4 separate regions of the Homo sapiens genome follow, and all the other regions are linked to region 4. Evidence: promoter capture Hi-C in human tissues and cell types (Jung and others, 2019). All regions are on one chromosome and are shown on one strand. The core of a region is centred on a gene start or on the middle of the fragment in contact, and the rest is flanking DNA. Distances in the headings are between cores, read along the strand shown. Region 1 holds the start of CTSS (cathepsin S). Region 2 holds the start of SETDB1 (SET domain bifurcated histone lysine methyltransferase 1). Region 3 overlaps CTXND2 (cortexin domain containing 2). Region 4 holds the start of ECM1 (extracellular matrix protein 1).

What was found. Contacts are between HindIII fragments. The study calls those that stand out against the background at their distance.
Region 1: the fragment with the promoter of CTSS here is called in contact with the fragment with the promoter of ECM1 in region 4 in 1 of the 25 tissues and cell types used here (thymus).
Region 2: the fragment with the promoter of SETDB1 here is called in contact with the fragment with the promoter of ECM1 in region 4 in 1 of the 25 tissues and cell types used here (mesendoderm cells).
Region 3: a contact is called between a fragment that was not itself captured here and the fragment with the promoter of ECM1 in region 4, in 2 of the 25 tissues and cell types used here (IMR-90 fibroblasts and heart left ventricle).

The regions. Positions count from the first base shown.
Region 1 is chr1:150,764,528-150,769,778 of GRCh38, reverse strand. CTSS (cathepsin S) reads left to right here and starts at 4,001. Exons shown (of 8, transcript NM_004079.5): 1 at 4,001-4,081; 2 at 5,015-5,141. The coding sequence starts at 5,016. RefSeq lists cis regulatory regions at 4,055, 4,058 and enhancers at 3,983-4,127, 3,986-4,130, 5,061-5,110. The HindIII fragment of the contact is 11,511 bases long and covers 1-5,251 here.
Region 2 is chr1:150,923,959-150,929,014 of GRCh38, reverse strand. SETDB1 (SET domain bifurcated histone lysine methyltransferase 1) reads right to left here and starts at 2,652. Exons shown (of 22, transcript NM_001366418.1): 1 at 2,498-2,652; 2 at 1,041-1,311. The coding sequence starts at 1,300. It overlaps LOC107985204 (a long non-coding RNA gene), which reads left to right and starts at 2,674. Exons shown (of 3, transcript XR_001738231.2): 1 at 2,674-2,755. The HindIII fragment of the contact is 16,745 bases long and covers 331-5,056 here.
Region 3 is chr1:150,905,617-150,910,813 of GRCh38, reverse strand. All of the region lies in intron 1 of CTXND2 (cortexin domain containing 2), which reads right to left. It overlaps LOC107985204 (a long non-coding RNA gene), which reads left to right. Exons shown (of 3, transcript XR_001738231.2): 2 at 3,723-3,812. Among named protein-coding and RNA genes, the nearest start is that of SETDB1, 18 kb to the left of the region's middle. The HindIII fragment of the contact is 6,057 bases long and covers 1-4,931 here.
Region 4 is chr1:150,504,050-150,509,436 of GRCh38, reverse strand. It overlaps ECM1 (extracellular matrix protein 1), which reads right to left and starts at 1,328. Exons shown (of 10, transcript NM_004425.4): 1 at 1,158-1,328. The coding sequence starts at 1,227. It overlaps TARS2 (threonyl-tRNA synthetase 2, mitochondrial), which reads right to left. Exons shown (of 18, transcript NM_025150.5): 14 at 5,002-5,102; 15 at 4,704-4,805; 16 at 4,459-4,531; 17 at 3,732-3,846; 18 at 1,835-2,521. The coding sequence ends at 2,373. The HindIII fragment of the contact is 11,585 bases long and covers 1-5,387 here.

The DNA.
Region 1 (5,251 bases), core at 2,752-5,251, 260 kb before region 4:
GATGATTTCACTTTGGATCCACATAAATGTTTTACATAATTATAAAATGAAATTACATAAGTGTAAAAAGCAAGCCCTAAAAGGAAGAAGTGAAATGAAACAAATAAACCTGTGTATGGAGGTGGAGCATAACCATACAGGGAACTATTCCAGGTGACTTCAAAACACAGTAATTGACTTACATCGTTAGCGACATTTGGCTTAATGGAGAAAAACCTGTCCCCCTCCACTTTAAAACCTCTAATTTGTTTTCATTAACAATCTTATTGGCGTAGGCTTGTTGTTGTTATTCTGCAATTTTACAGGATAAATTAAACAAGTACTTGAGTTGATATTTTAGAGAACCCAGATTTTTTAAGCATGTTTGAAAAGAAGTGCAGATATAAGATTGATGGGGTGAGTAAACCCTATAGTCTTGAATTTGAATTTGAAGTATCAGTGTCAGCTTGTGATTTATTTAATTTTTTTAAAAAAGATATTTCTTAGCTCTAGCTACTGAAAAGGCTTAGCAACAATGGTCAATCTGCTATCCCAAACACTGCTAGTTCCTAGATTATGGTATTTAAACATTGTTTCCACTAAAAGGAACCAGAGCTCCTTGGAGAAATGGCTGATTCCAGGTCTGGGGCAGGAATTGTTCAAGACAAACCTGCAATAGCCTGTCATATTAGAAAGAAAGGAAGCTTTTAAAGAGTACTAATATTATGCCAAATATACAAACTCTGTCTGCACCAAAGAGCCAGTTTGAATAAATTCCTACAGACCAAAAATGAGACAATATGAGTATCAATAAGGATAAAACTGGAATGGATTGAAACACATCAAATATGTTTAAATCCATGAATTCATAATGATATAAACATAACTCAATGGTTTCACAATATATGGAGCTTATTTAAATCTCAATTCAAACAAACTATTAAAAAATGTATAAGACAGTCCAGAAAATGTGAACATTGATAGGATGTCTGATGACATTAAGAAATTATTGTCTTAATTTCTTATGACAATAAAGTGGCTCACACCTGTAAACCCAGTACTTAGGGAGGCTGAGGTGGGCAGATTACCTATGGTCAGGAGTTCGAGACAAGCCTGGCCAATGTGGTGAAACCCCATCTCTACTAAAAATACAAAAATTAGCTGGGTGTGATGGCACATGCCTGTAATCCCAGCCACTTGGGAGGCTGAGGCAGGAGAATCGCTTGAACTCGGCAGGCAGAGATTGCAGTGAGCTGGGATCACACCACTGCACTCCAGCCTGGGCAAGTGAGTGAGACTCTGTCTCAGAAAAAAAAAAAAAAGAAAATTATTGTTCATTTATTTTAGATGTGATGATGGTATTGTGGTATTATATTTGTTTAATAGTCTCTGTCTTTTAAAGACACACACAGGGACATTTACGTATGAAATGACAGAATGTCTAGAATTTATTTAATATAATTCAGGTAGTGAGAGTGGGAATATAAATAAAATAAGATTGGCCATGTACTGATCATTGTTGAAACAAGACAATGGTTTCACGGCAGCTCATTTTACTACTATTTTTACTTTTACATGTGTTTTAAATTTTCCATAAGCAGTATCTTTTTAAAAAAAACTGTATGGCTACAAACACAAACATGTCTACTACAGCTGAGATGAATCAACATTATAATGATGTTACTTCTCCCTAAATTTATGCATATATTCAAATAAAAACTCTAATAGCCAGATGTGGGGGCTCATGCCTGTAATCCCAGCACTTCAGGAGGCCAAGGTGGGCAGATTGCTTGAGCCCAGGAGTTTGAGGCCAGCCTGGGCAACATGGTGAAACCCCTTATCTACAAAAAACAAAAAACAAAATCAGCCAGGCATGGTGGTGTGCACCTGTAGTCCCAGCCACTCCAGAGGCTGAGGCGGGAGGATCACTTGAGCCCAGGAGGTCAAGGCTGCAGTGAGCCATGATTGCATCACTGCACTCCAGCCTGGGTGACAGAATGAAACCCTGTCTCCAAAAGAAAAAAGCAAAAAACTCCAACAGAGTTTTTCAGGGAACTTGATAAACTGATTCAAAAAATTCATATAAAGAAGAGTTAACAAGTACAAAATACAAAGACAATGTTTAAAAAGAAGAACAAAGATAGGGTGGCCTAGATGACTTGCCTTACCATACGTGGAGACATATTACAAAGCTGTTTTAATTAAAACTGTGTGATACTGAAGTAGCAAAAGATAAAAAGAACAGCTTCATGAGCTCAGAAACTGACCTATCTATGTATGAGAATTTGGTGTACAATAGAGGTAGAATCAAAATTGGAAAACAAAGAAAATAAGCTCCCTACGTCATACCATACACAAAACTAAATTCCAGGTGAATTAAACACCTAAAAGCAGTAGCCATAGAAAAGATAAATAAAACACTCTCTGAAAGTATAAAAATAAGATGAGTGTATCTTTATTACATTTGGATGAGGAAAATTTTCTTATACAAAAACAGTATAGATTGATTATACGGAAAAGCTGAATAAAATGTTCTACCTCAACATAAAAAAATTTCATATAGAAAAACTCACTATAAACAAGACTAAAGGACAAGTGGAATTTCATAGGCTTATGCAAAGGAAGAAAAAATAAAATAAAAGACAAGTGGAAGACTAAGGGAGGATGTTTTTAAGGGTATATAACTGTCAAAGATTAGAAGCCAGAATATATTTTTAAAACACATACACCTTGGCCGGGCACGGTGGCTCACACCTGTAATCCCAGCACTTTGGGAGGCTGAGGCGGGTGGATCACGAGGTGAAGAGTTCAAGACCAGCCTGGCCAAGATGGTGAAACCCTGTCTCTACTAAAAATACAAAAATTAGCTGGACATGCTGGCAGGTGCCTGTAATCCCAGCTACTTGGGAGTCTGAGGCAGAGAATCGCTTGAACCTGGGAGGTGGATGTTGCAGTGAGCCAAGATCGCACCAATGCACTCCAGCATGGGAGACAAAGCACGACTCCGTCTCGGAAAACACACAACACACACACACACACACACCTCCCACAAATCACTAAGAAAATGCAACAATACAATAGAAAAATGAGCAAAAAAGATGAACAGGAAATTCACAGAAAATTCAAACGGTCAATAAATGTGTGAAAAGATCCTCAACCTCATTAGTAATTAGGAAAATGCAAATTTAAAAGATGATAGTTCGTCTTGCTCCCACCCCACCCAGGTAATCATTCTCAATTGGATATATTTGAGTGTATCCTTTTTTCCATGAATATACTAACACATACACACACACACACACACACACACGCATATTACTAAACTATACATATAGTATATATTAATAAAGACATTTTGAGTTTGATGAACGAAGGAATGGCTGAGTGAGAACCAGACAATATCAGATCATGAATGAGTTGTGTTAAAAGCAGTAAGACAGGTTTTCCTAGGAAATCATACAAGGAGCTGGGATTTGGGGAGCTTTATCTAAATCTCTTTATAACTAAATGTTTTCCATGTAAAAGTTGGTGTTTTTAAAATTCAATTTAATTTTTTTTTTGAGATAGGGTCTTGATATGTCATCCAGGCTGAAACACAGTGGCATAATCATGGCTCACTGCAGCCTTGTCCTCCTAGACTCAAGCAATTCTCCCACCTCACCCTCCCCCTCAGCTGGGACTACAAGCATGCACCACCATGCCCAGCTAATTAAAAAAAATTTTTTTGCAGAGACAGGGTCTCACTATATTGCCTAGGCTGGTCTTGAACTCCTGGCCTCAAGTGATCCTCCCGCCTCAGCCTCCCAAAGTGCTGGGATTATAGGCATGAGCCACTGGGCTCAGACAAGGGCTCTTCTTGATGGCTTACTGTATCCACTTTGTCCCCAAGACCATAGGGAAATGACTAGAGGTGACTGTACTAGCTAGATTTTAAATGAAACTGAAATGAAAGTTCACTTCCTCATTTTGAGTACCTCATGTGACAAGTTCCAATTTCTTTTCAAGTCAATTGAACTGAAATCTCCTTGTTGCTTTGAAATCTTAGAAGAGAGCCCACTAATTCAAGGACTCTTACTGTGGGAGCAACTGCTGGTTCTATCACGTATGTACTCTTTGTTCTTTTTCTCCCATTTGGTCTTCAAACACTCTGTGTTTGTAACTTGTTCTGCCTGCTAGGTTTTAAATCTTTGGTTTCAGGAAGTAAACTAAAAAATCGTGTCGTTCAATTTGCCTCTTCTCTATTTTTAAAAAGTTAATGTCTGCTTGAGCATCTAAGCATCTAAGTTGAGACTGAAACATGGCTTTCTTTGGAATATAATTTAAAGGCTTACATGTTTAAAATTCCAGATGTTTTCAATTAAAAAGAAATGGAAAAGAAAGTAGAATCCAGTTTGAGGGAGCTAGTCGCTGAATTTCTGTTGATGTCTCTTGAATTAAATACAGAAGTGGCATTTTAAAGAGTAGTTAATTGCCTCATTTGAAACAGATGTCTGATCATTAAAAAAAAAAAAACGTAAAAAGGAAAATTACCTACCTAAAGATGTGAAAGCAATAGATGAGAATTGTCTTTTAACTATCTGTAAAGACTGTGGATATTTAAACAGGTCAGTTAAGAAGAGCCCATGTATTCAAAAATTCAGGAGATAAACTGATTTTTCAGAGGTTTGTCTCTCTTAAGGATGATTTTTTTTTTTTTTTGAGAGAGAGAGAAAGAGATTTCCTTTGATTAGATTTGTTGGCAAATCCTGGAAAGTCCCTGTTTTCTAACCCTCTAGATGTGTTTGGTTTACCAGATATTGGGAAATTCCTGGAAATCACTTTTTAAAGTGCTACTAAGCATTGGAAGTAGTATTTCTGACATAAATCTGCAGCTGTTCCCTGTGACTATATATCCCAGGAATTTTCCTGTATAATTCTGTTTATAATAGTCTGTCCCTTTGATAGACTTTGCATTGTTATTTTCTCTTATGAAAACATGTGGTCACAACATATGCAGCTAATAGCAACACTTCCTATGTTACCTTTCCTTACACAGAATGAAACGGCTGGTTTGTGTGCTCTTGGTGTGCTCCTCTGCAGTGGCACAGTTGCATAAAGATCCTACCCTGGATCACCACTGGCATCTCTGGAAGAAAACCTATGGCAAACAATACAAGGAAAAGGTAGATTGGATTGCCACTCGAGCGATATGCTTTTAAAGGAGTACTGTTTTCTACCTCTTAAAATTGTGTTCTTACAGGCAGTGTTTTCAGTAAATATTTAAGCTGGGTGT
Region 2 (5,056 bases), core at 1,403-3,902, 420 kb before region 4:
AACCAACCCAAATGTCCATCAATGATAGACTGGATTAAGAAATGTGGCACATATACACCATGGAATACTATGCAGCCATAAAAAAGGATGAGTTCATGTCCTTTGTAGGCACATGGATGAAGCTGGAAACCATCATTCTGAGCAAACTATAGCAAGGACAGAAAACCAAACACCGCACGTTCTCATTCATAGGTGGGAATTGAACAATGAGAACACCTGGACACAGGATGGGGAACGTCACATACTGGGGCCTGTCGTGGGGTGGGGGGAAGGGGGAGGGATAGTATTAGGAGATATACCTAATGTAAGTGACACCAACATGGCACATGTATACATATGTAATAAACCTGCACGTTGTGCACATATACCCTAGAACTTAAAGTATAATAAATTTAAAAACAATGTATTCTAAGTGACAACTAGAGCACCAGAAACAAATCTTTTGGGGGTATGGGAACTTACTAATGCTTCAGAGTTACGTAAGACAGAAATTCTTTACAATCCTCACTCCCTGGATGATCTTACTAGGGAAATGAAGCAATTGTTCTAAGATAGAGCACAGGAGGAAGAAGGGGAAAGGACTTAAGACTTGGACTCCCTTACTGCTGATCATGTATTAGCTGCTGACAGATGAAAATTATATTTACGGCTGATTGTAAGGTCAGATTTTTGACCATAAACTTTGAGGAAGAGTAAGGTTCTAAACATCTGTACTTCATAAAGTATAAAATGTTTGGTACACAGCCTGGCCAACATGGTGAAACCCTGTCTCTACTAAAAATATAAAAAATTAGCTGGGTGTGGTGGCGGATGCCTATAATTCCAGCTACTCGGGAGGGGGAGGTGGGAGAATCACTTGAACCCGAGAGGTGGAGGTTGCAGTGAGCCAGGATCACTCCACTGCACTCTAGCTTGGGTGACAGAGCGAGACTCCGTCTCAAAACATAAAATAAAATGCTTGGTTCAATGTCATGAACAATTATTCTCTAAAAACATCTCCCAATGGAGAGATTTCCTTCTATTTTCCATGGAGTTCTCACCTGGATGCATCATCAAAGAGTTGGTCAACGTGAGCCACCTCAGATTCTTTCTGTATTACCCATGTCTCTAACTCTGCTAGCTGCTTCTTGCGTTGCTGTACACAATCCATCTTCTCCAGTTCCTCATCGATGAAATGCCGAAGTTCCTCCATAGAGATACCCAGTTCCTCAACCACTGCCTGTTGCAGCTCTGCAATCTCTTCAGACTCCACTGTAGCTGTTGCTGCATCCAAACCAATGCACCCAGGAAGGGAAGACATGCTTTTGTCCTCTGCATGGAACAGAAAACAAATTAAATTGGAGTCCTTATAACTACAATCAATCAATAGAGAATTTCAGTTCCCTAATAAAACTAATTCCTACTCTGCTGCCTGTTATTCTATTCAAATATTCCATGTTCTCCCTCCCTATTCTCCAGAATCTGATGCTGAGATTTTTAAGAGTTCTTATCTTCTGCTGTACGCTAACACTCCTGAAAAAGATTTAAGAGTTTGAGACGGCATGGAGAACATTCATTAAGCAGTAGAGAGCTACTGAAAATAATGTTTTGGGCTGGCACAGTGGCTTACACCTGTAATCTCAGCACTTTTAGAGGCCGAGGCAGGAGGGTCGCTTGAGGGCAGGAGTTCAAGACCAGCCTGGGCAACATGGCAAGACTCGTCTTTACAAAAAAATACAAAAATTAGCCACGTGTGGTGGTGCACGCCTTTAGTTCCAGCTACTCAGGAGGCTGAAGTGGGAGGATCGCTTGAGCCCAGGAGTAGCTGCTGTAGTGAGCTATGTTCGCGCCATGCATTCCAGCTTGGGTGACAAAGTGAGACCCTGTCTCAAAACAAACCGAACTTTAAAAATAATCTTTTGGGATACTGAAGAGAACCAATCTATAAGATATTTTTGTGGTCTATATGTGTTCCTTAACTAATGTGATAAATCTTTGTATGCTATGCCTAATTTAAACAAAACCCCACCTGGGGATGGAGTTGATTTGGAACTCACTAACTCAGTGTTTTCTCTTTCATTACTTGTTCCCCTTATATTACTTTGCTTCCATGTGGAATTTTACTTTTTAAAAAGTCTATGATATTCAAACACACGAAAGCTTGCAGCAAAAAGGTTTCCCCCAAAGTACAGAGAAGTAAAGCAACCTGGGAATAAAACGTGGGTACCTAATATCCACAATCCAAATACTTCACACATTCGTGTGAACTGCTTTTTTAATCAAACGGTTAAAGAAAATCTGATTTTCAGCGCCTCCATTTTCCTCTGCCCACACACCAGCCCACCCCCGTGCTACCCATTCTAGGGGTGCGTCCTACCCATTCGCAAACCCAGTTCAGCCCCGCCCCCGTTCGCCTCTGGGGAAGACTTCCTTCCCACCCTCGCCCGACCCCCTCCCACAAACAAAACGTCCCAGATAAGCCTTTGGTCACCAAATAACTCAACAGTATTCCCCGCACCTCCCGTCTTCCAGCTTCAAGGGCTCTTTTTCACCAACCAGACCCCAGACTCACAACTCAGGGGTCGGCCTCGACGGAAAAGAGCGAAAGCGAAGGGATAAGGGAGGAGGGGGAGGGGAGGAAGCGTGAAAGAGGGAAGGGGAAGCAAAAGAAACGCCCGGAAGCAAACCTTTAGTGCCGTTCCGGTCACCGCGACGGTAGCCTGACGGGGTCAAATCCAAAGCCGCGGGGCGCCCCTCAGAGGCGACGAAAACTAAGGTAACTACGCATGCGTTAAGGCAGAGCCTTCCAGGGGCACACGTGAGAAGAGACTGGCAGGGCAGAGTAGGCGTGGCCAGTATATTACCGAGTCTCCGCCGCTCCTACCACCCTCGACTAGTGGCCCCATTACTATATTCATTGTGTAAAGACTTAGGGAAACGCTCATAGGTTCAGAGCTTTATTCTCTCAGTTTTACTTGAGTTTGTTTTGTTACATAAGTGATACAAATTGTAAAGGCTATCAAGATGTAATAAGAAAAACGTGATAATATTCTCTCTTGCCCCATCACCACTCCGCTCCTTTCAGGTAATACAGCTTCATTTTCCAGTCTTGTATGTACGAGTTTCTGTATTTGGATTTTTGTTGTTTTCATTTAACATGTGGACATTACCTGAAGCCAATAAAAAAGGTAAAACTTGTATTTTTGGCCGGGCGCGGTAGCTCACGCCTGTAATCCCAGCACTTTGGGAGTCAGAGGCGGGCGGATCACGAGGTCAGGAGATGGAGATCATCCTGGCTAACACGGTGAAACCCCGTCTGTACTAAAAATGTTAGCCGGGCGTGGTGGCGGGCGCCTGTAGTCCCAGCTACTCGGGAGGCTGAGGCAGGAGAATGGCGTGAACCCGGGAGGCGGTGCTTGCGGTGAGCGGAGATCGCGCCACTGCACTCCAGCCTGGGCGACAGAGCGAGACTCCGTCTCAAAAAAACCAAAAAAAACAAAAAAACAAAAAACCAATAACTTGTATTTTTGACACCTGAATAGTTTAGATTGTTTAGATTGTTTTCCGTTCTCAGCCCCGACAAATAGCGCAACAATAAAAATAAACATCCTTTTGAAGTAGTACTTTTATTTCTGTAGAAAAGATTCCCCAGGCCGGGCGCTTTGTGTCCGAGGCGGGAGGATTGCTAGAGCCCAGGAGTTCCAGACCAGCCTGGGCAACACGGCGAAACGCCATCTCGACTAAAAATACAAGGTAAAAAAAAAAAAAAAAAAGCCAGGCGTGGTAGTTCGCGTCTGTGGTCCCAGCAACTCCGCAGCTGAGGCGGGGGGAGGATCGCTTGAGCCCCGGTGGCAGAGGCTTCAGTGAGAGGAGATCGCGCCACTGCACTCCAGCCTAAGTGACCGAGCGAGACTCCGTCTCAAAAACAAAACAAAACAAAAAACAAAAAGAAAAGATTTCCCAAAATGGAATTTGAGTAAAATAATATGTGCTTTTTTCCTTTTTTTTTTTTTTTTTTTTTTTTTTGAGAAGGCGTTTCGTTCTATCGCCCAGGCTGGAGTGCAATGGCGCGATCTTGGCTCACTGCAACCTCCACCTCCCGGGTTCAAGCGATTCTCCTGGCTCGTCCTTCCGAGTAGCTGGGACTACAGGCGCGTGCCACCACGCCCGCCTAATTTTTTGTATTTTTAGTAGAGACGGGGTTTCACCGTGTTAGCCAGGCTGGCCTCGTCACACCTCGGCCTCCCAAAGTGCTGGGATTACATACAGGTGTGAGCCACTGCGCCGAGCCTTCCTTTTTTTGTTTGTTTGTTTGTTTTTGAGACTGAGTTTCGCTCTTGTCACCCAAGCTGGAGTGCAATGGTGCGATCTCGGCTCACTGCAACCTCCACCTCCCGGGTTCAAGCAGTTCTCCTGCCTCAGCCTCCCGAGTAGCTGGGATTACAAGCCCCTGCCACCACACCCGGCTAGTTTTTGTATTTTTGGTGGAGACGAGGTTTCGCCATGTTGGCCAGGCTGGTCTCAAACTCCTGACCTCAAGTGATCCACCCGCCTCGCCTCCCAAAGTGCTAGGATTACTTACAGGCGTGAGCCACTGCTCCCGGCCCTTTCTTTCTTTTTCTTTTCTTTTCTTTTTTTTTTTCTGAGACAGAGTCTCGCTCTGTCGCCCAGGCTGGACTGCAGTGGCACGATTTCGGCTCACTGCAACCTCCACCTCCTGGGTTCAAGCGATTCTCCTGCCTCAGCCTCCTGAGTAGTTGGGACTACAGGTGCGTGCCGCCACGCCTGGCTAATTTTTTGTATTTTTAGTAGAGACGGGGTTTCACTGTGTTAGCCAGGATGGTCTCAATTTCCTGACCTTGTGATCTGCTCACCTTGGCCTCCCAAAGTGTTGGGATTACAGGCATGAGCCACCTCGCCAGGCCTTTTTTTTCCTTTTTTTTTTTGAGACGGAGTCTCGCTCTGTAGCCCAGGCTGGACTGCAGTGGCGCGATATCGACTCACGCAAGCTCCGCCTCCCGGGTTCCGCCTCCTGGGCCTCCCAAAGTGCTGGGATTGGGATTACAGGCGTGAGCCA
Region 3 (5,197 bases), core at 654-3,153, 400 kb before region 4:
AAAAAAATACAAAAATTAGCCAGGCATGGTGATGCATGCCTGTAGCCCCAGCTACTTGGGAGGCTGAGGCAGGAGAATCACTTGAAACCAGGAGGCAAAGGTTGCAGTGAGCCGAGAGCATGCTACTGCACTCGAGCCTGGGCGACAGAGTGAGACTCTGTCTCAAAAAAAAAAAAAAAAAAATTGAGAGTCCAGAAATAAACCCATGTATCTATGACCAAGTAATTTTAAACTAGGGTACCAAGAAAATTCGGTGAGGAAAGAAAACAAATGGTGCTGGGACAACTGGATAGCCACATGCAAAAGAATTAAGTTAGACCCTTATTTTGAAATGAACCCAATAGTCCCATAGTTTTTTTTGTTTCAACAGAAATTGACCCTTCTTGCTGGGCGTGGTGGCTCACGCCTATAATACCAGCATTTTGGGAGGCCGAGGAGGGCGGATCACCTGAGGTCAGGAGTTTGAGACCAGCCTGGCCAACATGGCGAAACCCCATGTCTACTAAAAATATAAAAATTAGCTGGGTGTGGTAGCACACACCTGTAATCCCAGCTACTCAGGAGACTGAGGCAGGAAAATTGCTTGAACCTGGGAGGCAGAGGTTGCAGTGAGCTGAGATCATGCCACTGCACTCCAGCCTGGGTGACAGATGGAGACCCGTCTCAAAAAAAAAAAAAAAGAAAAAAAAAAAACAGAAAAAAGAAAAAGAAATTGACCTTCTGGTCTTAAAGCTTAAAACTTACATTTGTTTTATGTTGAGTTCCTTCTTCAGGAAAGGGCCACCAGGCCTCTCAAAAAAAGTATCAAGGAACTGAAACTCAACCAGATCATCCCATCCTGACAATGAAGTGCAAGACCCCTCATTGGTCACAAGTGCTTTCTTGGCCTCCTGAGTTCCTGTTTTCCTACACATTGTTACATTTCTTCCTTGCTATATAAACCTCTAATTTTAGTTGGTCAGGGAGATGGATTTGTGACTGAGTTCCGGTTTCCTCTGCTGCAGCACCTGAGTAAAGCCTTCTTCTTTGGCAATACCTGTCATCTCAGGGGCAGGTATTGCTCATCTTTCTGTGTGGTGAGCAGCAGGACCTAGACCGAACTCCTGGTGTTTTGGTAACAATTTCACACCACATACAAAGATAAACTTAAAATGGATCAAAGACCTAAATGTAAGGATTCTTAGATATGACAGCAAAATCACGAGCAACAAAAAAGAGAGAAACTGGACTTCATCAAAATTTAAAACTTTTTTCTTTGAGACAGGGTCTCACTTTGTCACCCAGGCTGGAGTGCTATGGTGCCGTCTGGGGTCACTGCAGCCTCGACCTCCCAGGCTAAATTGATCCTCCCATCTCAACCTTCCAAGTAGCTGGGACTACAGGTGCACGTCATCATGCCCGGCTAATTGTTTTTTGTTTGTTTGTTTTGGTAGAGATGGAGTTTCACCATGTTGCCCAGGCTGGTCTCAAACTCCTGGGCTCAAGAGATCTGCCCTCCTTAGCCTCCCAAAGTGTTAGGATTGTATGAGCTACTGTGCCTGGTCAACACTTTTGTACTTTTTTTTTTTTTTTTTTTGAGAAGGAGTCTTGCTCTGTCGCCCAGGCTGGAGGGCAATGGCGTGATCTCGGCTCACTGCAACCTCTGCCTCCCAGGTTCAAGCGATTCTCCTGCCTCACCCTCCCGAGTAGCTGGGATTATAGGCGCCCCCACCATGCCCGGCTACGTTTTGTATTTTTAGTAGAGTCGGGTTTCACCATGTTGGCCAGGCTGGGCTCAAACTCCTGACCTCAGGTGATCTGCCCCCCTTGGCCTCCCAAAGTGCTGGGATTACAGGCGTGACCCACTGCGCCCAGCCAACTTTTGTACTTTAAGAAGCTTATTATCAAGAAAATGGGCTGGGCACGGTGGCTTATGCCTGACCAGCACTTTGGGAGGATGAGGTGGGAGGATCACTTGAGGTCAGGAGTTTGAGACCAGCCTGGGTAGTAAGGAGATACCTTGTTTCTTAATTTTTTTTTTTTTAATTAGCTAGGTGTGTGGCATATGTGTGTGGTCCTAGCTACTGGAGAGGCTGAGGCAGAAGGATCCTTTGAGCCCAGGAGTTCAGGGTTATAGTGAGCTATGATCGCACCACTGTACTCCAGCCTGGGTGACGGAGAGAGACCTGATAACCAAAGTTACAACGAAACAATGAAAAGACAACTCAATTAAAAATTAGGCAAAGGATATGAATAGAAATTTCTTTTTCTGCATAAGGAAGATATGCAAATGGCCAATAAACACATTTTTTAAATGGTCAACGTAATTAGTCATCAGGGAAATGGAAATCAAAACTTTGAGATACCACTTCACACCCACTAGGATGACTAGAATCAAGTCAGATTAAGTGTTGACAAAGGTAGAAAGTAATTGAAACCCTCATTGACGGTTGGTGGGAATGTAAAGTGGCAAAGTTACTTTGGAAAACAGTCTGGAAGTTCCTAAAATTATGAAACATAAGAGTTACTGGCCAGGTATGGTGGCTCACGCCTATAATCCCAGCACTTTGGGCAGCCAAGGTGGGTGGAGGATCACTTTAGTCCAGGAGTTCAAGACCAGCCTGGGCAACATGGCAAACCTTCCTCTCTACAGAAAATACAAAAATTAGTTAGATGTGATGGCGCACACCTGTAATCCCAGCTACTTGGGGGGCAGAGGCGGGAGGATCACCTGAGCCTGGGAGGCTGCAGTGAGCTTTGATCATGCCACCATACTCCAGCCTGAGTGACAGAGTGAGACACTGTCTAAAAAAAAAAAAAAAAGCTGGCTGGGCACGGTGGCTCACGCCTGTAATCCCAGCACTTTGGGAGGCCAAGGCGGGTGGATCACAAGGTTAGGAGATCAAGACCATCCTGGCTAACACGGTGAAACCCCATCTCTACTAAAAATACAAAAAATTAGCCGGGCGTGGTGGCAGGTGCCTGTAGTCCCAGCTACTCGGGAGGCTGAGGCAGGAGAATGGCGTGAACCTGGGAGGCGGAGCTTGCGGTGAGCCAAGATTGCGCCACTGCACTCCAGCCTGGGTGAGAGTGCGAGACTCCGTCTCAAAAAAAAAAAAAAAAAAAAAAAGCCACCATATGACGCAGCAATTCCACTCCTATGGCTGTCCCCAGGAGAAATGAAAACATGTGACCACACAAAAACTTATACAAGAATGTTTGTAGCAGCATTATTCATCATAGCCAAAAGGTAGAAACAACTCAAATGTCCATCAACTTATAAATGGATAAGCAAAGTGTGGTATGTCTACACAATAGACTATTATTGGCCATAAAAAGGAAGTACATACTACTTGGATGAAACTTAAAGCATTAAGCTGAGTGAAAGAAACAAGTCACAAACGCCCCCAGCATATTATATAATTCCATTCACATGTAAGTCTAGAATAGAGAAATCTATAGAGACAGATTAGTGGTTGCTTAGAGCTGGAGGTGGGGGATGAGGGGGTGAAAGTTAAATGATACAGGTTTTCTTTTGGAGGTGATAAAAATGTTCTACAACTGTGGTAATGGTAAAACATTTCTGTGAATGTGCTAAAAACCATTCAATTGTACATTTGAAATGGTTGAATTGTATGTGAATTATATCTTAATAAAGCTGGTTTTTGTAAAACCTTAGTTCAGTTTTAAATTCCTAATCTTATAGAGGATTTAGAGTTCTATTAGCTCTTCTCCCTTTTCAGGCTTCTTCTTCTGCATTGTACAGGATCAGGAAGAAAGGAAGGGGAAAATGTGAAGTGTTTCTCTATTTAATGAATCAGCTGTGGCCAACTGTGAGTAGGTGACCTGGTCTTACTCTGGTTAGATCTGGTGGTTTCAGAGTGAAGGATGTTTGTAGTTTTTTGAGTAGCGTTTCTCTTCATTCTGGACTTTTCTGTCATTGAAGACCCCTTCAAATGGTGCTGCTTATCCTCTATTCTCCCAACCTAAACTCACGTTGGATATCACATGGCTTGGTACAGTGGTCTCCTGGCACCTCCCACTGCTCCTGCTCCTTCGGAGACACCTGAAGTCCTTCAAGGGGAGTGGCCAGACTGTGATGGGTTGGGGGGATTGGCCACATTTTCTTCCTAGGCATACTCTGCCAAGGTACCTATAAACCCTGCCAGCACAGATTATTCCAGTGGGCCTTCCACTTTCAGATCTCTGTAGCCAAGAAATTGACATGATTTTTTATGTTTGCACAGGTTAAAAACTCACACCATGCTTTACTCCAACCTGACCAGAGTGGTTTGGCAGGTTCTACAGTTTAAAGCATCTATCTAGGGAATGAAATGCTGTTAGTCTCTCCTTGCTGGTGTCACCAATTGTACCAATGTCTCTCTTGGCATGCCCTCATCTTTGGCTTTGGGAGGAAGGGGAAGTACTTTTATCTTTGCTTCTCATCACAAATTTTGTACATCCCATAATGCCGATAATGAGAATTCCCAGTTGCCCTCCCAGTTCATTCTTTTTGTTGTTGTTGTTGTTGTTTTTGAGGTAGGGTCTCACTCTGTCACCCAGGCTGGAGTGCAGTGGCATGGTCATAGCTCAATGCAGCCTCAACCTCCTGGGCTCAAGTGATCCTCCTGCCTCAGCCTCCTGGATAGCTGTGACTACAGGTGCCCACCACCATACTTGGCTGATTTTTAAATTTTTTGTAGAGACGAGGCCTTACTATGATGCCCAGGCTGGTTTCAAACTCCTGGGCTCAAGCAACCCTCTGCCCACCTCAGCTTCCCAAAGTGCTGGGATTATAGGCATGAGCCACCACACCCGGCCCCAGTTCATCCTTCTTTTTTTTTTGAGATGGAGTCTCGCTCTGTCGCCCAGCCTGGAGTGCAGTGGTGTGATCTCAGCTCACTGCAAGCTCCGCCTCCCGGGTTCACGCCATTCTCCTGCCTCAGCCTCCCGAGCAGCTGGGACTACAGGTGCCTGCCACCACACCCGGCTAATTTTTTGTATTTTTAGTAAAGATGGGGTTTCACCGTGTTAGCCAGGATGGTCTCGATATCCTGACCTCGTGATCTGCCCGTCTCGGCCTCCCAAAGTGCTGGGATTACAGGCGTGAGCCACTGCGCCCGGCCTTATTCTTTATATATACTGTGGTGGGACAAGGGGTGGGAGTTGGTGGATATACGATTGACTACGCCATCTTCTCATGAGATTTGGAAGAGGT
Region 4 (5,387 bases), core at 79-2,578:
CAGACAAGCAAGACACGAGATGCCCCTCTGTATTCACCTGCCCCGTGTCCCCTAATCCTCTCCCAGCCCCAACACACCTAGACATGACCAGCTGGGTTCTGAGAAAGCCTGTGGCGGTCTGATAGCTCCACCTCTACTGGCTCAGAGGTTGGGCCTAAAGGGAGTATGGCATACGGGATTGGGGAGGGAGGCCCTCATTTCCTCTGCCAGTCTTTCCCTCAGGGCTGTGGGTTGTCCTCCCCAGTCTCTGCTGGGATGCGTCTCTAGCTTTCAGAGGAAAAAGTCTGGACCTTGAGCTGGTTGGAGCCTACCCAATCCACCTCCTCCACCCACCCTCCTACTCCAGGCCCTTGAAACATCTTTAGGCCTTTGGTTAAGGAGGCTTCCTGAAGGTTGAGTGCTTCCCCTTCAGCCAGTCTCAGCTCCGCCTTAGTTTAGGTCTCAATTTAGGGCCTGGGGGACTGGGACAGGCACAGGGAAGGGTCACTTGTAGGTGATCTGCAGACACAAAAGACCAGGAGCTGGGAAGAATGATGGCATGGGGCTTCACAGAGAAGTGGACAGATTTGCTGACATCCTCAGCAGCTTCCTGCAGGAGTGCCCTGGGTGGTTTTTTTCCTTTTCTTTTCCTTTTTTTCTTAGTTTCCACCCATAGCATTGAGGGGTTCCTGTTTTGTTCAGGCATCAAAGCAGATAAAGAATGTGTTTGTGCTGGATGGAGGGTGGGTCTGTGGATGGACACCCCTCAACTCCTCTAATCAGACAGGGAGTCAGTCGAGGCTTGCTGGGCCAGCAATCCGGTTTTGAGCAGCCTGGGGGCCCCTTTTCCCTCCCTTGCCTCTCCCACCAGCCACCTCCCTACATCCTCATCAGCAGGAGACCCTCACTCTGTGAACCCACCCCCCACTCAGTTGTCTATTTGACTGGGATTCTGTGTTTCTTGGCAGCAGTTTCTAGGAACCCCTCTCCTTCTGTGCCCCTGCTCTCTGCCTCCTTGGTTAAAGGCTCCACTGGCCTAGGCCCACTTTGGGCCTGCTCAGAAAAGGAAAGCCAAACGGAGAATCACTCTGCTAGTGATGAGCCGTCTGGGATGCCTGGACCCAGACCCCTGCCATGCAAGCCCAGACCCCCTCCTAAGTGCTGATCCCCCAACTCACCTCCCTCAGAGGCAGCAGAAGCAACAGCCAAATAGGTCAAGACCAAGGCTGCTCTGGCTGTGGTCCCCATCCTGGGGCAACTGACCACTGGACACTCAGAGGTGGGTCCTCTCAGGCAAGTCTGGATGTGAAGGGCCGGCCACTGAAGCTTGTCTGGTGGCTGTTACGGTTGTGAGCTTCAGGACCAGCTCTTCTTTTATAATTGTCTGGTGTGATCTCCCGCCCTCCTCAGCTTCCTGCCATGACTCAGTCCCAGCTGCTCCTCCTCTGGAAGCCACTCCTCCCAAAGTCACCCTGAAGCCTCCTCAGAGGATTGAGAAGAATGGGACTGATTAGAGGAGAACATTCTTATGACCTTCAAGAGAAACTGATTCAGAGAATCCAGGAGCAAGAGGTGTTTGAGCCCCTAGTTTGTGCCTCAGTTTCTCCATCTACAGGCTGCCTTCTGTGGAGAGGGGATCTGCCAACTCATGAACTGGGGTTGGGGAAACAGGGCACAAAGGAGTTTACAGCGGGGAGCAGGAAACCTATCCAAGGGATCTCCCCTACCAGTGTGAGGTCTGGACTGTCCCTTTTCAATTTCCCTAACTCTCTGGGACAAAAAAGAGGGAGACAAAGTGGAACATCCTTTTATCCCACCTCTCCAGAGTCAGAGATGAAGACATATGACCAGCAGCTTCCAGTTTGTATTTATTTATTTATTTATTTATTTAGAGACAGAGTCTCGCTCTGTCGCCTAGGGGGGTGCAGTGGCGCAATCTCAGCTCACTGCAACCTCTACCTCCCGGGTTCAAGCGATTCTCCTGCCTCAGCCTCCTGAGTAGCTGGGATTACAGGCGTGTGCCACCATGCCCGGCTAATTTTTTGTATTTTTAGTAGAGACAGGGTTTCACCGTGTTAGCCAGGGTGGTCTTGATCTCCTGACCTCATGATCCGTCCGCCTCAGCCTCCCAGAGTGCTGGGATTACAGGCATGAGCCACTGCGCCTGGCCCAATTTATTTTTTTTTGTAGTTTCATTCTCCTCACATCCAAACAGCTACAGCTTCCCTCCTTTTGTGGGGTCCCCAAACCAAGTCTCTTTTCAGGAGAGCAGACATGTGCCTCCACACAGTTCTGAAGTTCTGGGGGCTCCACATTGTCAGCTGGGTTGGGGTCTCCCATGTGAGGGAGGCTGATGGCACTCGCAGGTTTTTGCCTCATCTATGTACAAAGGCTCAGAAAATTTCTTCGGCATTTGGGACCCTCGTGTTCTGTAGCTCCACCAGTCGCTGCACAGCCTCAGGCAAGTCCCACTCCCCAAGGCGACGATTATCTCGAGTCCGAATGTTCACTGTTCTCTTACTTTGCTCTTTCTGGCCAACCACTGCAGGTAGAGGAAGTTTGGGAACCTCAGGGCAAATTCACCCACATGGAACAGTTTCTTTTGCTCTGCAGAAACTTGAGAGACCTAAATCTTTAGGAAGGGTGGGAGCAGAGCCCAGATATGGTTCACAGAAAGGAAGTATTCAGCTGTGTCTGCTAATACTAAATGACCAGTCCTGCTCATCCTGAGGAGACAAGGAAGTGCTTCAGTCCCCGCAGGCCTTATCGCTTCTGGTCAAGAGCCCCAGGGTCAGAGACATAAGAGTCAAGCAGAGAAAGACAAACACTGAGAACCCCACAGAGAGAAACTGTGTGTGTGTGTGTGTGTGTGTGTGTGTGTGTCAGAGACATTAGAGTCAAGCAGAGAAAGACAAACAATGAGAACCCCACAGAGAGAAACTGTGTGTGTGTGTGTGTGTGTGTGTGTGTGCGCGCGCGTGTCTGAAGGGGGTATTAGAGCAAGTGGAAGGTGGCAGGAGTGGTGTGGCCTTCACACTGCCCCGCCTCCCCCCAACCACTCTGACCCTTAGAACAGTTTCCTCTCATCAGTCCCACTCTGGCTCTTGGTGTCTGTTAGGGCTGGATTCACAGAGTGAGGGGCCTCTGCTGAGGAGGATGTATGCAGGGGCTGACTGGGCGGTAAGGGAGGGAAAGGGGCCATGTACAAGTCCCTGGGATTGCAGCACAGCTTGCTCTGGGTGCTTGTAGGGAGAGTGGGGTGTGCAAAACTCAAGAATCAGGTAATCTGGCTGAGGAGTTTCTGCTCCTCACCTTTGAGATAGAGCCCTGAACCCTGGAAAATGAAAAAGGGAGCATGGCAGTGCCAGAATTTTCTCCCTAAGGCCTTTCTCCTCATCCCTTAGGGCTGATTCCATCTAGGTCTAAAATAAACAAGGGTAATTAACGCTGTATTAACCCTCCCGTCCCTTTCTCTCTGATGCTCCCTTGGTTAATTAACCTAACAGACACCAACAGCTAGAGTGGAGTTAAAAAGAGGAAAACTATTTTGAGTGTCAGAAGTGGTTATGGGGAGGGCAGGGCAATGTGAAGGAACACAGGGCCCAAATGAGTCAGGTGTCCTGAATCCTGGCTCCTACCTGCTCAGGTAATGAGCCCCAATTAACCCAAATATGCATTACCAGACTTGGTAAACTTAACAGCAAGAATGCAGACGGCAGGTGGGAGAACATTGGCTCTGAGGTTCAGCTTACCAAACTGAAAATTGTAGTGGGCAAGCTGGGCCCGGCGGATTCTCCGGCTGAGGGTCAGTCCAGAGTCTGCATCCAGGTCACTGACCAGTCCTGCAGCCCGCAGGCTCTGCTGTGCCTGCAACAGAGGTTTGGTGACAGGAAGTTAATTTACTGGAAAGTTAAGGAGCTAGAACAGTCTGATGCTCTTTTCCCTCAATGCCCCCATCTGTTCCTCCTTTCCCTGCCTCGGGGCTCTCCACTTCTTACCAGCAACCTCTCCTCATTTCATCTCCACATTGAGGCCTCCTCCCCATTCATCCCCAACCCCACAATCTTTCTGCCTCCTACTGGAGATGACCCCCCAGTTATTCCGTGGACTTTGCCTTCTAGCCACTGCTCTACCCAACCAGCTGTTTGACTCTGGTACCATCCATATCCTCAATTCTCTCTAGAAAGGAAAAATAAAACTGTGTACTCAATCCCAGTTTTGTGCCAAGTGCTCTTTTGGTGGCTTTCAACATTTGTTAATTTGTTTAATTTTCATACATCTCTACAAGGTAGGCATTAGTCACATTTTTTAGATACAGGATTTCCAGCATCTAGGACAGCAGCCACTCGAGCCCAGTCTTGTGGCTGTGAGGGCTGTGCTCCTTCCTCTACCACCCCTGCAGCCTCTTCCTGCCCACTGCAGGGCACCAGACTCTCTACTGGACCTGCTTCTGCCCCCTCCCTTACCTCAACTCCTTACCTCTTTGGCGTATTCCTCTTGCTCACTCCCCACAGGGATGACCACCACCTGGAACGGGGACAGCCACAGTGGCCTGGTAGGGAAAGAACAGGTGATGGCAAATTAGTCACTCTGGCTCTGGCCAGAAGTGTGCTTGTATGGAGCAGACTTGAGAAGGAAAGAGGCTGGCATATGAAGGGGGACAGGATCTGGAGCATAACTATCCGGTTTGGGGCCAGAACAGAAATCCAGGTCAGAGGTCTCACCATTTCCCCCCGCAGCTTTCTGCCAGCACTCCCAACAGTCTTTCCACAGAACCGAGCACTGCTCGGTGAATGAGGACTGGACGCTCCAGGGCACCCGCCTGCCTTGAAAGGAAAAAGGGGGGGGTGGATGGAATGGTGGAAGTATCACGAATTGTGTACCCAAGATCACCTTCCAGTTTTTAAGAAATATTCAGCTCTGGCAGGAGAGGGTGTGGAGGGTTTAGTTTTTAGGGCCAAAGGCAGAAGGACTTATTCCATGCACTGTCAAGGGAAAAGAGGATAGGGCAAGGTTTTATACCCCTTATACTGGAGGTCAAATCTCAGGGGCAGTTGGAAGTCAAGCTGAATTGTCCCACACTGATGTGGCCGGCCCAGGGCATCGTGGAGGTGCACGTCAATCTACAGGAAACAGATGGGAAGGCACGAGATAAGCCAGAAGCACTATCCAGAACCACTATCCTCCATTACCTGTGCCATCCCACCCTTTAACCTACCCTCATCCCGGGCTACTACCTTCATCATGTCACCTAGCTCTATCATACGCTACCCCTCCAGTTCACTCTACTCAACTCACTCTGGCAGTAGTTCTCAGCAGCTCTCTCCATCTAATAATGGTGTTATAATATTACCTGATGTCCACACCCTGGCCTCTCAATTCCTTGAGCTCCTCATCTCAGAGATCTT